Regions from separate parts of the Homo sapiens genome. Here all the other regions are linked to region 1. Evidence: promoter capture Hi-C in 16 types of primary human blood cells and fetal thymus (Javierre and others, 2016). All regions are on one chromosome and are shown on one strand. Each heading gives the region's core, a stretch centred on a gene start or on the middle of the fragment in contact. The rest is flanking DNA. Distances are from core to core; before and after follow the strand shown.

Evidence for each region. Contacts are between HindIII fragments. The CHiCAGO score rates a contact against its expected background, and 5 or more counts as called.
Region 2: a contact is called between a fragment that was not itself captured here and the fragment with the promoter of VAV3 in region 1, in 12 of 17 cell types (activated CD4 T cells, naive CD4 T cells, megakaryocytes and 9 more). The highest score is 9.2, in activated CD4 T cells.
Region 3: a fragment that was not itself captured here is called in contact with the fragment with the promoter of VAV3 in region 1 in 14 of 17 cell types (naive B cells, total B cells, monocytes and 11 more); the score reaches 11.1 in naive B cells.
Region 4: a contact is called between a fragment that was not itself captured here and the fragment with the promoter of VAV3 in region 1, in 12 of 17 cell types (monocytes, naive B cells, total B cells and 9 more). The highest score is 9.1, in monocytes.
Region 5: a contact is called between a fragment that was not itself captured here and the fragment with the promoter of VAV3 in region 1, in 4 of 17 cell types (total B cells, naive B cells, total CD8 T cells and 1 more). The highest score is 7.0, in total B cells.

What each region holds. Positions count from the first base shown.
Region 1 is chr1:107,963,659-107,967,160 of GRCh38, reverse strand. It overlaps VAV3 (vav guanine nucleotide exchange factor 3), which reads left to right and starts at 1,981. Exons shown (of 27, transcript NM_006113.5): 1 at 1,981-2,495. The coding sequence starts at 2,292. It overlaps VAV3-AS1 (VAV3 antisense RNA 1), which reads right to left and starts at 2,718. Exons shown (of 3, transcript NR_046653.1): 1 at 2,657-2,718. RefSeq lists enhancers at 1,195-1,264, 1,200-1,494, 2,841-2,970. The HindIII fragment of the contact is 4,630 bases long and covers 1-2,700 here.
Region 2 is chr1:108,083,493-108,086,994 of GRCh38, reverse strand. No RefSeq gene overlaps it. Among named protein-coding and RNA genes, the nearest start is that of LINC02785, 21 kb to the right of the region's middle. The HindIII fragment of the contact is 6,284 bases long and covers 1-3,502 here.
Region 3 is chr1:107,859,651-107,863,152 of GRCh38, reverse strand. The region is part of intron 2 of VAV3 (vav guanine nucleotide exchange factor 3); the gene reads left to right. Among named protein-coding and RNA genes, the nearest start is that of MIR7852, 36 kb to the left of the region's middle. The HindIII fragment of the contact is 3,279 bases long and covers 238-3,502 here.
Region 4 is chr1:107,880,731-107,884,232 of GRCh38, reverse strand. All of the region lies in intron 1 of VAV3 (vav guanine nucleotide exchange factor 3), which reads left to right. Among named protein-coding and RNA genes, the nearest start is that of MIR7852, 15 kb to the left of the region's middle. The HindIII fragment of the contact is 286 bases long and covers 1,363-1,648 here.
Region 5 is chr1:107,899,287-107,902,788 of GRCh38, reverse strand. The region is part of intron 1 of VAV3 (vav guanine nucleotide exchange factor 3); the gene reads left to right. Among named protein-coding and RNA genes, the nearest start is that of MIR7852, 3.8 kb to the right of the region's middle. The HindIII fragment of the contact is 1,959 bases long and covers 637-2,595 here.

The DNA of each region.
Region 1 (3,502 bases), core at 732-3,231:
ACAAAAAAAAAAAAAAATTTCTTATTTCGTATCTATGGAAACTGAACTGTAGAGAATTTATCCAAGGTCATGTTGCTAGAAAGCAGTACAGCTCGGGCTCTAAATCCAGATTTGCGTCCTGGGATAGTGTATATAATGTGGATTTTGGAAATATTCTCCAACATCCAAAGGTGATCTGATGCTACCTGAAAAAAATTCATAGTTTTAGTTTAAATTTTGACCCGTTTAATGAAATTTCTTTTTAATTTCTCTTTATGAAAGACTGTGTTAAATGGTGATTCAAATGTGTTGGATTTTGCTTCTAAAGGTATGTAGAGATTAGTATGATTTATTTGCCAAAATTATGGCCTAGAAAATGTCGTGCTATTGATGGAATCCGCATTGAACACAAGAGGAAATTGCTAGGGAAGGATGCGTGTGAGGAAAGGAAATCCTCAGGCTGATTTATTGTTCAGCGCTGAGTGTAAACAGTGTGCTATCCTTGTCACAGCCAAACGAAAAAGGACGCAATCACTATCCTGAACAGATCATTCTTTTAAAAATAATATTTTGGCCTGCTTATAAAGCATGGTTCGTAATAAAAAATTTGGGCTACAGAAATATAATACAATTAAATTATCCAAACTCCCATCTTTTTGTTTGTTTGTTTGTTTGTTTTTTGAGACAGAGTCTGGCTCTGTCGTCCAGGCTGGAGTGCAGTGGCTGGATCTCAGCTCACCGCAACCTCCGCCTCATGGGTTCAAGCGATTCTCCTACCTCAGCCTCCCGAGCAGCTGGGACTACAGGTGCGTGCCACCACGCCCGGCCAATTTTTTGTATTTTTAGTAGAGACGGGTTTTCACCGTGTTAGCCAGGATGGTCTCGATCTCCTGACCTCGTGATCCGCCCGCCTCGGCCTCCCAAAGTGCTGGGATTACAGGCGTGAGCCACCGCGCCCGGCCTATTTTCTAATTTTAAGTGAATGCATCTCAAAAGGGTGACGAAGGACCACATTCCTATCGAACAGCAATAATTCACTGTGGCAATATCTTGCCACAAATAATTTAAACATTAATTGTGGTTTTGAGGGGCAGTGTGCAGTGGGAGTAAAAGGGGTAGGGTTTAGAGTCTCCAAAAGATTTACTTAAGAAACACGAATGCACTGCTTGTGCACTGCGCAAAAGTTCTGGGGTCAAGTTCCAACTTTCACTAAGGATCCCAGAACAGCCCGGCAGGAGCTGCCCAGGGCTAACGCGCTTTGCTCTCAAACCCGGCCGCCAGTCGCCGACGCATGCGCAGTCTAGCACCGTGGCACAGGCCTTTCTCAAGCAGGTTTTTGTGGGGTCAGCAAAAGGGCCAGAACAGCAACGGCAAACAGTTCCGAGCCTGACAGTGCAGGGGCAAACCAGCTCCAAGTGAAAATCACCTCGCGAGGAAATAGGCTCAGGGATCGGGGCGGTTTCCGCAGGCGTCTCCACACACGCACTCTCACTCACTTTGAGGGTGCCAAAACACCACTAGGGGCAACTAGGAGGAATAGGCTGAGGAATCAGCTATAGAGAATGGAGGGGATAGAGCTGCAAGGGGCGAGGGGGCGACGATCTCTAAAACTTTCAGCGCCGTGCTCTACTGATGCTCTAGGCACTTTTTTCATTGCTCTGGGGAGTCTGGGTGCCCCAATTAATCCGTCGCTCCTTTGAGCATTTGTTGTTTAGGGGGTCCTGGGGGACCCCATCGTATTACAGTATTCAGCCACACTCCCCGCAAAGCCGGGAAGCCGCCCCGAGAGAAGACCCCAGGACGCCGGGGGCTGCGTGAGCCCCGCAAGGCTGCAGGCGGGGGCGCGGGATCCCCTTTCTGGCCGCCGCCCCCCTCCGCCGGCCCCTCCCCCGCGCCCCGCCCTCGGCCACAGACCCCAGCCCCGGCCGCCGGCGCGCTCCCACCCGCGCGTCTGGGGACTTGCGGACCGCAGCGAGACCGGCCGGCGTGCTGGGCATGCTCAGTGGCGGGCCGGGCGCTGGAGTCGGAAGCCTGTGCGCGGCAGCCGCCGCCGAGCCGGCCGGGGCGCACGGAGAGCGCGCGGGACTCGCTGCAGCGGCGGCCGGGTCGCGGCGCACCCGGGCCGGGACCGGAGCCGAGCCTAGCGCGGCGCCCGCGACCCGTCAGCCGCGGCTCCTGCTCCCTCGATCCCGCGCGGGGAAAGGGCCGGCGGCTGTTGGCGTCGGCGGGGCGCGGAGGAACCGCGGCGGCGGCGGCGGCGGCCGCATCCTTGCCGCCCGCCCCGGCCCAGCCGCGTCCCGGAGCCGTCGGGCATGGAGCCGTGGAAGCAGTGCGCGCAGTGGCTCATCCATTGCAAGGTGCTGCCCACCAACCACCGGGTGACCTGGGACTCGGCTCAGGTGTTCGACCTTGCGCAGACCCTCCGCGATGGAGTCCTGCTCTGCCAGCTGCTTAACAACCTCCGGGCGCACTCCATCAACCTGAAGGAGATCAACCTGAGGCCGCAGATGTCCCAGGTGAGGAGGCCGGCACGGGCGCCCCGCCTCCAGCCGGCAGCTCCCATTAATCATGCGGCTAATTTCTTTGTGTAAATGCAAACGTCTAGGTGCGCTGAGCTTGCCCTGCTTCCCAGCCTTCTGCTTTGGGACCACTTCGGCACCACTTTGGCGTTTCCTACCTTGGCTTGAAATGGTTTAGCTCCTCAAGCTGAATGCGAAAGCTTTGCGTCCGGAGATGGTGTGAGGATTTCGTAAAGGCTTTCTGTGAGGCGGGAAAGAAATAAGTTGTCTTAGGGTGCCCTTCACCTACTCTGCGTGTGTGTGGCGCGACAAAGGGAATTTGATCAAGCTCTTCTATAATAACGAAGGGGAGGGACGAAACGAGGTGATGGGGTAATTTGCCTTTAGTCTCTTCTTTTGCTTTGCGTCTTGTACTCATGTTTTCCTAAAAGAGGAACCATGACATACATGAGGACTCGAGGAAGTGAAGGGCGTTTGGTCCCGTTATCTGTCCAGGAGTGACATTGGTCAAAGGGAAGAACAGGGAGCAGAACCCGGAGGCCGCCCCCAGGGCCCCTGAGCTGGTGGCCAGCCGGCAAGCTCCCGTTTACAGCTCTTCCTAAGCCATGTGAGAAGGAGCGAGTCCAGCCTCTCTCAGCAGCGACAGGAAATGAGAAGTTTCACTAGAGATTCCGCTTTCCTTCCTGCAGTGCCCTGCTCAGGTGCTGTGGTGCCGGTCGGCTCCTGGGGCTGGAGCTGCCTCTTTGAGGGTTAAGCCAGACACCTCTGGAAGGTTGGGTGCACCCTAGAGTCAGCTCAAAAGTCACAGTTCAGTGGAAGAGTAGTTTATTTGTCCTGTCGGAAAATTTTTGTACAGAAGGATGTTAAACTCGGTTCAGAGCCTCTTTCTCTTTCAGAATGTTAAAACAAAACAAAAAACCAAACTGCTTTCAACTTAAAAGGGAGAGGACAGAGCCCTCTCCCTGACACATTTCAGCACTAATCCTCTATGACGCAGAGCCTCA
Region 2 (3,502 bases), core at 547-3,046, 120 kb before region 1:
ATCCTTGACTTGTAGCTTTTTTTTTTTTTTTTTTTTTTTTAACACAGATCTATTTTGGTGCATCTATTCAGAATGCCATAGTTCATATTACATTGAAATTTTGCCTTGTTTTTCTTCCGTAACCCAATAGAAGAAGCATACGAACTATAGGATTTAGAGATGATTAGGTGACTATGCATTTTGGTTGGTCTGGGACAGTCCTGGCTTTATGCCTATTACTCAGGTGTAAATATTAATTAGTAGGACTCCATTTCATGCCTAAGTTATCTTGGTTTGAACAATAAAGCACATGGTCACCTAGAGATGATACACTTAATCATTAGCTCTAATCAGCTGTTAATGTTAAGCAGAGTACTCTTTCTATGGTGTTATTTTCAGGGTGAAGTTTCCTGTCTCTCTATTTTATGCCTTTTCCCTGACACAGACTGTATTACACTTCAGAAGAGCATAATGTTACTCCTTGCTTTGATCTTCTTCCTCAGTTTCTTTTCCCACACTTCAAAATAAAAGTTTCCAAGATTTAAACAAGGTGTTCCAGTTGTGACAGCTTTAGGAGAGGAAGCAGGTTCTGTCTTTTGGCAGGATCTGCACTCAGGACGAGGACAAGAAAAAAAATCCAGAAAGTCCCTAGCCTCTCACCTGCAGTATTGGGCAAGTACTTTAGATGGGCTGAGGTTGTACTCCATTCGTGGGCCACCCCTTACACATCCATCCCCAATCCAGGCATGCAATTGCTGCCGTAACCATCTCTTCCTTATCCCTACCCCTTCTTCAGGAGATTCCACCTTCCCATACCCCAAGTAGACAGAAGCATTTGGACTTGGGCATGGAATCCCAGTCCACATAATGCTTACAAGGGGAGGGGCTCAGGGGACTATCATAAGATGATTTCGGAATTATGGTCGCTTGTCACAATTAAGCCCTCCAGAATACCAGGCTAAATTTGCCTTTTTGTTTCTTTTGAAACTCTTATAAGTAAAAATTTCAAAGCAGTTTTTAATGTCCCTTTAATTTCAGTTTCACTGGCACCCTTTTCTGAGTGCATCCATACTTTTTTCTGTACAATAACAGTGCAGGCCAAACATCAGATAATTTTTGTTCTAGATATAGTACGTAGTCTGTGGGGCAAGTGTGTACTGGAGAAAGATTCATCATCATTCTGGACAGGCTGTCCACTATTTCTCCCCTTCCCCCTGCACCATCCCCCATGCAAGTATAACTAGTGTAGATAGGCAAGTTTCCCTAGACTTGGCCATGCTTACATTGACACTTATGACATCCAGACCTCTCTTTAGCCAAATTAGCAGGAAGGCCAGCTTTTCCCAGCCTCTTTCTTCCACTGGTGTTTCTGAGAATTGCAGAGGCCACTCATTTATTCCTAACAGTTGTCCTGATCTTTGTATCTGTAGGCAGTGTTGGAACTCAGACACCTTCTTGAGGCCACCACTGGTCACGGGGCCAGTTCCCCAGAGAGTTTATCACTAGCTGGGAATAGCTGGCTCTGAAGTTGCAGAACAAAAATGTTGATGTTGTCTATTAATTCCGAGATTCAAATGTCACTCTCACAGGGTGAGAGTGGCTCTTTCTCGAAAGCAAAGCTGTTTGTGCTCCAGTGAGTCTGGTGTCAATGGCGAAGTGGCCCTTGCCCCGACCACTGGGACAAGCTGGTATCACTGCCAACTTTGCAGAGGCCCTGGCATCCCCTCAGGGATCTGGACAGCTGGACCCCACCTCCTGCTGGCCCTATTACTTGCTGCATCGACCACCATTGCTGGGGCAGGCGACAGTGTTGGGACATCTAGAATGAAGGAGTACTTGTCTGACTTACTTTCTGAGCTTCACAGAAATAGGCCCTGGCCCCTGAGGGCCAAAGCTCTTCTGATACAAATCTGTCTCCAGGACAGCTGAGTTGGGGAGAGTTCTGAGAGAGGCCACTATCCTGACCTAGAACCAGGCTCCCTTTGATCCTTAACCCTGAGGCCAAGACCTGTCTACTACTCCTGATTCCTCCTCCCCACAGGGGGAATTCCATTCAGAATTCTCACTACTCTTTTGGTCTGCCCTCTCACTCCAATCCTTCAGACAATTTACAAAAACTTTGAATCTCACAAGTATTTGGGATTTTCTAAAAGTCTTTTCTCTCTTTCTCGATTTAGGGCGCATAAATACTGTGGCCAGAGACTCTGTAATTCTCAAGCTGAAATGCAAATAGGTATATGGTGAGGGGCCTGCAAATCCACCAGCCTCCTGAATCAGGGCCAGCACTTGCCCAGGAAAGCATTTTGTACTCTATGGTAATAATTCATTTAAAAATAAAATTCGGATCATACTAAATCATCTCTTTTATAACCTTCATGTTTTTCCTTAACATCACGAACATCTTTTTATAACAATAAATATTTTATGGCATCATTTCATAGCTGCATGGTATATGTTGCTGATTCTCTATTATGAGATATTTATTTCCAGTTTTGCCACTATCATGAATAATGATGAGGTGAATATCTTACTATAAGCAGCTTTGTGTACAGTGATGATTTCTGTAGGGTAATTTCCTACAAGTGGAATTTACTGGTTTAAAGGGCACTCTGGTTTACACCAACACCAGCAGCCTCTGCGGCTTTGCAAAGGGTTGTCAATAGTTACCTAAAATAATTCAGAAGATGTTCTCCTGTGGCTGTTCTTTTAAATGGTGTGTAAGAGAACACAATCAAGGCTTAGAATTGCTTGAACACTCTACTTTTGAGCCCCTGAATGTCACATTAGATAGGACAGTTTAGTTTTCTAAACTGTTTTTTGTTTTCTCTTAAAATATCTTTTATTAAATATATTTTTCATATTTCCTTTTCAGCAAAACATAATGATAGCTATAATACTAATAATTGCCAGGAAGGGTTTTCCCTAATCCTCTGAGTATTTGGAGGTCAAAGGAAGAGCTTTTATATCCTTTCAAAAGAACAGTAAATATGGTGGGGTGAGGGTGGGGACAGAGTTGTATCTCAAAGGCCCTCCTGTTTCAGAGGAGATGCTATAGAGAGGTTAGAAATTATTTACCAGGGGACGTAGGGTCATTTTCCCAACATTATCACATCCTTAAGAAGAATTCTGTGTCTTACCCATGAGAGATGTTTGTCATTTTGATTTTTTGGTTATTACCTGGGACCCTTTTTTTTTTTTAACCTTCTTAAAGCATCCTATGGTATTTTGGCTCTAGACTTGTGACATTTTGTCTTCTTTCCTAAAGGCACAGGGAGAGTTAGGGAGCCATCTGTGCTTGCCCTCAGTACTGTGTTTAAGAGATAAATAAGCAATTACTTCTCTCCTCAGGCAAGCTCTTTTGTTTGTCAGGAAGTCTCTGTCTTGATCCTGTCTCAGTAAACAGAAAAAGATATGTAGCAATTCCACAGCCATAGAAGACTGTGGCTGGCTTCAGACTACATTCATAGAAATACAACATATGGACTGATTAAAGTACAATCCCATTGTACTCTGCATATCTTCA
Region 3 (3,502 bases), core at 628-3,127, 100 kb after region 1:
GAAATAATGGAGCAAGAGCAAATATAACTTACAGTGGGTTTCAAATTAATGTAGGAGAATTCTAATGGCATTTACCCTTAATTTATGTATATTTTACAACCGAGTAGATATGTTTTATTTTTCTATGATTTTTGCTATATTGTGCCATCCTAAATTTTCCCTTTGTTCCTTTTTTTGATGTTCAGTTGGTTGCTTGGTTGGGTTTTTTTGGTATTTACTGATTATCTAGTGGAAGCTTGGTCCCTGGTAGAACACTTAGAAATTTGGGGTTTATCATTTCTATTAAAAATGGAAAATATTTTCTTTCTGTGTAATAGGAAACCTTCTAGGAATATTTGTCTGTATTTCCAAGGCTATGGCACATATATGCTCACTAATGCACGTATTCTAATTCCTAGCCTTAGTTGTTGGGCCGTATCCTATCTGAGCTGTGTTCAGAAATCCTTGACCTTGTCACATTGGCTTAAGGGTAAGATGTAGTTTATCCAAGTTACATATGGAGGTCATTGAGTCTTCATTTGCTTACAATAAATTGTAAATATGATGGATGAGAAATATGTAAGGAGAATTGGTTAATTCCAGTGGGTGATATATTAATAGTCAATTTACTTGTCTACACAAACAACAGTGAGGCAGAACTCTTGGCCTTTGACTGTTGTGCCTGTGTATTTCCTATCAACAAGATCTCCTAGAAAAGGAGGATGGCACTTTCCATGTTTATTTTCTGTGTCTTCTTTTTTTTAATGGCTTATGCACATCTGTAGGAATAAAGGAGGCTGGTGTTTGCTTCCCATGCTCAGTGAGAGGGGTAGTGTGGGGGTGGAACTGGCTGAATGCTCTCATTTGCACAGGATTAGGCAGAGGAAGTGTGCACCAGTAGTGGTATGAGCACCAAACAACTACAGGAAACAATGCTTGGCAGTCACTGCAGCTGTGTGGAGTCCGGCTGCGCAGGCTTCCTCTGGATAGAGTTTAGTTTCTGAGTCACTTGTTTTCCACTTAAAGCACCTGTGTCTTTGGAGAACTCCATTGAAGAAATATTAGTTGAATATGGGCCTTTCTCTGGTTTGCCTCAATGCCAATTATAATGCTCTTTGGACATGAAAAGTTCTGCTAAATCAACATAGTGTCTGAGGACCAGTGGTGTCAGGACAGGCCAGTGCGTAGAGCAGTCAGAAATCATTAGGTTAGAAAAATGAATGGTTTTTAAATCTTTCAGAACACTCCCCACTGAAGTATGTATGCATGTGTATACACAATTAATTTTGCACAGAGATGTGCTTGGTGACCTTAGGTATAGGCTTTACCTTGCTACTCTCATTCTTTGTTTCTGTGTAGAGGAAATGAAGGATGCTGCTTGCTGCTTCTGAGTAAGCAGGTGCCTTATAGATTGTGTGCTGAATCATTTACACTCTTTGAGTTGTCTTTTAAAGTAGCTGCATATTTATAATTCATCTTAGACAAGATGATCAATCTAGAATGGTTATATTCGGATATGGGTGGACACTGGACACTATTTTTATTGGTCAGTCTAGGTCAAATTTTAATGATGATTGATAGCATTGGATATGGATTGGGTAGAGTAATAAAAACATACATAGAAGGCTAGATTCATGTTAGAATTAGCTATGCATCTGCTCCTTATATCTATAAAGTTTAACAAGGATTCTTTACCAAAATCACTGCTGATTTTTCCTAATAGCCTTAGGCTTTTGGGAAGAAGCAGCAGAAAAATTAGAATTTATTGGCTGCCAGATGATAAAGTACAGTTTCTTGGGGAGATAGCAATTTAGAATTTTAGCAAAGTTACTATGAAGTATAATGATGAAAGGGAGATGATATTAATTAGCGTTGGCTTTTACAAAAAAATTGTTGAAGTATTTTTAGCTTTGTTTACTTGGAATTTGGTCAGTTGACTGCACCCAAGATTCTCCAAATACATAGACGTGTAGAAAGATAAGCAATCAAAAGCATATATTCCTTTTTTTCTATACTGTTTTGGATTCATGGTTGGAATCCCTTCTGCAGTATTTGAACAATTCCTAGAGATGTAACAGAAATTTCTTAAGTAGCAACAGTTCCAATTATGGATCCAGTTATGGATAATGAATTATCTAGAGATTCATCACTAATAATAAAGCATAATCTATCTTTCTAAATTTTCTTCCATTGGTTTTAGAGCAGCACAGAATTAATTTCTACACCTTCTGTAGGACAATCGTTCAAATATTTGAAGATTGTTATGTTTCTGTAAGTCTTTTCTTCTTTGTTGTCTTCTTTTTTTGTAAAAGATAGGGTCTCACTGTGTTGCCCAGGCTGGACTCAAAGTCCTGGGCACAAGCAGTCCTTGTGCCTCAGCCTCCTGAGTAGCCGGGACTGCAAGTGCACGCCACTGTGCTTGGCTTCTCTTCTTAAAATGAAATAAACGTCGTCTCCTCAGTTCTTTCTTTTTTGATTATTTCTTTCTAACTTCTGTGGGTAATTTGAAATGTCTGATTAGGATAACACATATGAAACAGCACAGTTAAAGGTTAAGAAATTTAAAATCGAAGGAGAGAATAGAAGCCATTTAAAGAAAGGGACACTATCATCATACCAAGTGGTTTGAGGATTACAGTGATCTCTCAGCAGCCCTGAAGTCAAGTAAAAAAGAAACCCAATAGGTTAATACAGAAATGAGTTCATGAACTAGCTTAAAGCCTTTGTTCCCAGTGGTAATTTGGAAAATGCTAAATTAAAAGCCCAAGAACTTAAATTATTATAGAGATAACCAAACATATAAAACCTAGAAAACTACTACAATCACCGCTCATATATCTACTATTGAAAAATTATCATTTCTGTCTCTACAAAAAAATACAAAAATTAGCCAGGTGTGGTGCCATGCATGTGTAGTCCCAGGTACTTGGAAGATTGAGGTAGGAGGATGGCTTGAGTCAAGAATGTGGAGGCTGCAGTGAGTCGAGATCATGCCACTGCATTCTCGCCTGGGTGATAGAGTGAGACTCCCTGTCAAAAACAAAAACTAACATTTGACCATATTTGATTCATCTACTATCTATTATAAATACTTATATACCGCTATTTTTGCTGAACAATTTAAAAGTAAATATAGATAGGCATCATGACATTTGTCCCCTAAATACTTCAAATGGTACAGCCGTCAAAATAAGGATATTTTTCTATATAACCATAATATCTTTATCACATATAACAAAGTGAATAATACTTCCCTGGTATTATTTAATATCCAGATATTTAAAATATCAAATTTTACTAGTTTTCTCCACAATGGATTTTATAGCTAGTTTCTTTGAATTTGACATGATTGAATAAAGGTTCAGACATTACTTTTGGTTGTCATGTCTTCATGAGTCTAAGAAAAATGTTTTCTTTAGCAGTTTTATAAATATCTTGATTTGAATTTAATTTTCTGATGATCTACCAAAGGTGATTATCATTTTTGATGTATTTATATTGAATTTATACTGCTCCTCTTTGA
Region 4 (3,502 bases), core at 256-2,755, 82 kb after region 1:
TATTTTAATATGTACAGTTAAATTATTATTGACTATAGTCTGCCTGTTGTACAAATACTAGGTCTTATTCTTTTTAACTTTTTTTTTTTTTTTAAACTGGGCCCCATCTCTGGGTTGCTTTGAGCTAGCTGTCTTCTGGCTAACAAAATAGTTGAGTGCTACTTTCTTTCACCAAAGGCAGCGACATGCACCACTTTCATTAGCAGGTTAATTAACTTAGGAAAATAGATGATCCAGGCTAACTTTGACCTCTGCACTTCCAAGGTATTCAGTTTTTTAGTGCAAAGACTAAAAACACAAAAGGAGGAGTAAAGATGCTGCTTGTCTTCCTTTTGTATGTCCAGGGACTAATGCAGGTGTTGACAGAAAAACCTTTGAAACTGAGTTTCTAAGTCTAAGTTTCTGCCAAGGGAGAGGGGTGCAGTGCTTCCTCTTATAAGGACAAGAGCTGTTGAAAGCAGCAGAGGGCTTGTGTGTGTGTGTTATGGTGACTGCTGGCCAAGGGCCCCTGAAAATCAGTTGGCAGCTTCCCATTGAACACACACCAGAGGCAGGAAACACAGACTAAAGATCATGCTTAAGAATGTAATTGCCTAATAATTTAAAATCTTTATTGATATTATTTATAAATATTAATATAACTTCTAAAAATGTTCTTAGGTAAGTTTAAAAAGACACATTGCTACATTAACATTGAAATAAGAAGATATGATGACAATTTAATGTAAAATTTTACTGAGTTCCCTGACTACTAAGGAATCGTTGCATTTAATTTTTCCTAGAGATAAACTGCATCAGGATTCATTCATCAATTTATTTGAAAACATGTATGTGCTATAAAAGCTTTGGGATACAAAGACAATATAGATGTATTCTTTACTCTCAAATATTTACTATTTCTTAGGGCACTAGGTAGTCAGACAGATATATTATAGTTAAGCACAGTTATTACCATAACAGATGTGAGCCGGGTGCTGCAGAGCAAAGAGGGTGCATGTGTTTTTACAATTTAGCCCTGCATTTATGAGCTTAGCCATTTCAATATAATTACATATAACTCATGAAAGTACATTATCATTGAATACTGTGAAAAAAAACCTGTTAACTTTAAATGGTAAATTACTGTATTTTTGAACGAATGACTTAAAAAATTACCCATTAGAAATGAGTTGTGGCCTGGACAATAATCAAAACAGAAATATTGGCTTTTAAATTGCTGAGAATAGGGAGGTTTTGGTTTAGTGAACTGATGACAAGATTACAGCTAAGGAACAACCCTTCTCCATTTATGTCCTCTCTGCATGTCCTTTAGGGTCATCATTTACTGTGATATTAGCATCAGTATGAAAATAATTTGAAGCTTCATATTGTGCAGTCCTAAACTGATACCACATGTAGCATACTTATTTTGTAATTCAGGGGATATTTGAAGGTATGATTTCTTAGAATGAGGATGATGATGCCCCTTCTGTTGGGACCCACTGATACACGGGGGAAAAGGACAAATAAGGTCCTCATACAAATAAAAATTATTCTTTTATTAAATTTCTAGGAGATGTAAGATTTAGCTCACCTAATTTTAAAAGAGAGATATAGAGAAGATATGGTGAAAGGGACAGAAATAGGGAACTCCAGTAAGAGAGAAGCTTGATATTATTATATTCCTTACACCTCTTCCTCCTTACCAGTTAAAAAAAAGGATGATCTGAGACCTTTGGAGAGGTATAGAGGAGGAGTTATGATGAGAAGAGAAGGAGAATTCTTCTTGTACCTTAATGTTTGTAAATCGGTTTCATGGTCGTCTCTTCTGTGCCTTTCGAAACTGCCAATCATCTTATTATAATGGCCACTCATAATTTGAATTATGCCAGACCCTCAAATTCAGGGCCGATCTTTCAATAGCAAGTGTCCTACTGAGAACTTCTTTATTCTGAGATGCTGAGAGCTTCTTTCTTCAACACACAGGTTGGCTCTGGGTGGTCCTTGCCTCATCAAATATAAGTTAGAAAATCTACATTGTGTGAAGGTCTATTAGCACTCACCGACCTTCTCATGAAATGTCATTTCTCATTTGGGACTGAAATAACTCATCTCACAATAAGCTGTAGAGATTTTTCCTCTTCCATTGCCTCAGTTAACACCACTAGTCCATTATTCCTAGCAACTTTGGAGAAGTCGGTGTTTATTTTTTCAAATAAAAAGGGAAGCCATCCTGTTTGCATTCATATCTTTGAGAAAAGTCAAGATGGCTTTTACACATAGAGAAAAAGGAAACCATACACTTTTAAGGGGTAGAGGAAAAGGAGCGATTCAGAGTTTTGTAGTGAACTTTAGCAGTTTGACCTTCAAATGTTTCCTTTTTTAAGCGTCAATATTGCTAACATTAAAGTGGTAACAGGAGGCTGCACCTTGAAAAGCCACTCATGCCTTGTCTGTTGTGGTAGCTACCTGGTTATGAAACATTTTCTAATCCAGAGAGCTTTGGCCTGATTTATAATTTTAGGATGTTTTAGACCTTGATGGTGTTAAACTTTCTTCTTCGGAAGTTATGTGCATTGATATTGAGTGCTTTTCTACCATTTTCCTTCCTCACCTTGAAATAAGCGAGCTATTCATGCCCTTCTGAAGAGGGAGAGAGGCTACGCATGGTTGTTGAAGACACATGGCTTTGTTGTTAGAATACATCACTTTTCACTGGATATACCTGAGAGAGAGGCTAGGCAGCATCTAATTACTGGGAGTTTTTATATGTGAAGACAAGAATTAACTGACTCCCTGGCCTCCTTTTCACATACTATGTCCCCCAATTTGCTAAGTTACCATTTTCAGTGAATGCCCTGCTATCCTTCCAGTGCCCAAGGCAGAGAGAGGTACAGTTATAATTCTGAGGTCTTCTCTTTTCTCTCCCACTGCGTCCCCACACACAGTCAATCAATTACCAAATATTTCTTTTCCATGTAATCTCCTGGAGTTCTTCCCATCTCTCCTTCTACTATCCTAGTCTAAATCCCATTATTTCTTGTTAAATTATATGATAATGTCCTGGTTGTCCTTGTCTTGTCTTCCTATGCCACATCATCTCTCTAGTAAGAAGAAAAACATTTAATTCTATAAGCTGCAAAAATGGAGTTAATATAACATAGTAGTTAAGGATATGGGCCCTGTAGCCAGAATGTCTGGATTTGAATCCTGACTCCATTGCTTTGGCAAAAGCAGTTATGTAAATGTTGGTAAATCTCTAAGCCTCAGTATGTGTTTAAAAAAAAATTAAAACTTTTCTGATTGGATTGTTGTGAGGATTGAATGGCATAAACATTTAGCATAGAGCTTGACACATAGCAAGCACCGAAACATCACTACAACACCAATAATCATAAATGCAAAGCTGAGTATTCCGCTTTCCTTTGGTGCTTTTTTTCTTTTCTTTTTTTTTTTTGGAGACAGAATCTCACTTTGTTGCCCAGGCTGGAGTACAGTGGGGTGATCTCAGCTCACTGCAACC
Region 5 (3,502 bases), core at 367-2,866, 64 kb after region 1:
TTTTTAATTCTTTAATTTTATTTGTATCCTACTGGCCTTCGCTCTCCTTCCCCTCTCTTGTTGATACATAGATATGATTTATATCCTCATGGCAGGTGTCATACTTTGTATAACTTCATAAATATTTTCTTAAAGGTTTAAACATGTAGGACCTCAGGTTATTCTAAAATACGTAAAAGAACAAAACAAAATCATAAATCAATGTAAAGAATAAATGCATATTATGGAGAAAATTACCTAAAAAACTCCTACATAAGACTATCTAGCGGTACTTAGGTGCATGGCAATAGTGAAAGGGCAGAAAACAGGGGATGGTACCAAAAATAGATGCGTTATTCTTCCAGAATGTGAAACATTATATAATTGCTTACAAAGCAATCATCATATGTAGACAAATGACACAGAATGGAAGATGAATAAAGTCAATGTAAGATTAAAAAAAATTGAAACAATTACATCTCCATCTGTTACACTGATAATGTAAAAAGATATTGTACATTCAATCACAGATGGCCTTTTAATCACTTTAGAAACTTAGCACAGAAAACTAGGCAAAGTCTGTAGAGACCCTTGGTCTAGCCTCCTGTCCTTTAGCTTGGAAAGTTAGAATTCATCTTTAGCAGAAGTTCTTAAGCTTTCTTAGTTTAAGGCATGCTTAATATTTCTCTGAATTTTTTTTTATTTTTTTATTTTGCAGGCCAAAACAATAACAGTTTTTGTTGTTGTTTTTTTTGTTTTTTTTTTTGAGATGGAGTTTTGTTCTTGTAGTCAAGGCCAGAGTGCAGTGGCACAATCTTGGCTAACTGCAACCTCCGCCTCCTGGGTTCAAGCGATTCTCCTCCCTCAGCCTCCCGAGTAGCTGGGATTACAGGTGCATGCCACCATGCGTGGCTAATTTTTGTATTTTTAGTAGAGACGGGGTTTCACCATGTTGGCCAGGCTGATCTCGAACTGCTGACCTCAGGTGATCCACCCGCCTTGGCCTCCCAAAGTGCTGGGATTACAGGCGTGAACCACCCTCTCCAGCCCAGTTTTGTTTTTAAGTAGTTATCTCTAAGCAATTTAATAAATATTTATGTCCCAACAACATAGTAGTTGGTTGAAAGAAAATAATACAAGTACATTGAAAGGAAAAATATTTTTATTTTTATTTTATTCTTAAATACCCACAATTATTACTAATGGGATGTGTGTGCCTGTTGGGCACTACATAACTTCTCAAATCTTGGAATAAGATTACACACCACCACACCCTCATTTTTTGTTTTACATTGATTGTTGTACCATGTTTAGTTGTTAACCACTGCATCTGCTGAATATCCAGCTTCACAAAGATACACCATTAAAAGGAACTTAGTGGGATCTAATGTTAAAACTACACAGTAATTTGAGCTAGTAATTCATGCAGTATCAGATGCTGAATATTCTTGTGATTTTTTTGGTGAAAATTTAAAATATCCTGCAGTGTCTCTGAGTTTGCTGTGGTGTTCCAGGATACCTTGGTGTATAATTTAGGAACCACCAACCAATAATCTTAAACTAGTAGGTTATGGGACACAGGCCAGAAATTATTTGCTTCCTAGTGCTTTTTAATCACATAGGTAAATTGTCAGCTACAATACCTGGGACATAGCAGCTCCCCAGCTGGTGTAAATTATTTTTCCCTTGCTATACTGTCAGCATTTATAGCCATATCTTTCCATGGTGGTCCGATTTATATTTACAGTCCAGTAATCTTTAGTAAGTACAGTCTGGCATATCTTATTGCCAATTGTTTGATTTTATGTGGAAGTGGGTGACACAGTTATTACTGAGTCTCTTTATAAAAATCTTATTTACGTAAAATATACAAGGTAAGGAAATGCATTCATTAACAACTGAAGACTGAGTGAGTAAAAAAATAACTTGTGGACACTATTTTCTTGTATAATTGAAAATTATGCACCACTACCACCACTACCACAAATAGTTTTGTATAAGATATGTCTGTTAAGTTCAGAGACCACAAAGTCCCTATTGTGATGCAATAACCTCGGTTAACTGAGCATATCTTCTCCATGTCCTGGTGAGGATAGCTATTTCAGAAGATCATTTATAGGACCATTTACAAAAATACAGTATCAATCACACTGCTTATTTTAGCATGCTTCAGTTGTGGTTTACAGGCAGTGATCCCTCTGTAAATGGACTGCACTTATCAACATGCTCTCATGGTTTACAATGATCTTGACAGCAGATTTAGTGGATTGAATATGGGTCTGATATGGTATGGCCTTCTCAAAGTCTAGACTTTATAAGGTGTAACATTTCACTTTGCACGTGGAAGAGAAACTTCTCATGTTCTCCCTGTTAAGAGTTGAAGGCCTAAAAACAATTTGCAAGTACTGTGTTGATGATTTAGTTATTAGCACATTTTCCAAAAGCATGTAGAGAAAATATCAAATTTGCATGCAGTGGTAAGGGGTGCATAAAGGTAACTTCCTCCTGACGTGTGGCTACAAAGTATACTATGGATATACTTTGCGGCTACACTGTACCACGTTTTCACTTCTCATATCCTGTTAATTTTCAGTAGGTTTCCTAAGTGTCGAAGCTTGTAGTCTATGTAGCAAATGTATTTCTATCCATGTGTAACTGTTTCAAATTATGGAAAATATCACACCTTGAGCCTTGAGCTTTACTTTGTAATGTGTTTAGTGCAGGATTGAGTTCCTTGAAAAGTGAAGAAGAAGAGATAATTTTAGTGAGCTACAAATGCCTGCTGATATATATTAAGTATGCTGAAAGTGTATGAATATAAAAAAAGGAATTTTATGGAGAAAGAATAGTTGAAAGACCTAAGGAGATTCTTGAAGGGGTCAGGTTTCAGGAAACTAAAGAGCCACCCAGCTAAGATACAGATCAAAGTAAGCCTTATGTTTATTGCTTATCTGTTCTGGGAAAAGCAGAGGCAGCCAAGTAAGACTTCTGATCTGCTTTCAAAACCTAATTCACCAGTTATTATTAGTTTGGCTTTAGGCATGTTACTTCATTCTCTAACCACACGTACCTCACCTAGAACAATACCCAGGCGGGAATGGGAACAATACCTATTTCATAAAATAATCCTGAAGATTAGATGAAGTAACACTGCAAAGGACTTCACTCAGCCTTGATACATCATTCTGCCTTAGAAAATTCCAATGAATTCATTCTCTTTCCTGTCCTACGGAGCTCACATGTGGCTGGCTCCTTGTTTCTTAAACCTTCCCTCAATGTGTAGTTAACTGTGCCATCATCTGTGCCTTTGTAGCCCTTCACAATGCATCCCATTATAGCACGTATCAAATTGTATTATTTATTCCTGCTTCTCTTTGCTAGTGGGCTGTAAGGTCGTTGAACATGAGGGACCACATCTTATTCAGCACCTTGCGCAGAACCTAATAAGTGCTCAAAAATGACATGCAGTGAATGAGATGATTGGATGGCCGCTTACCGCTGTTGGCTCAGCCCAGACATTTTT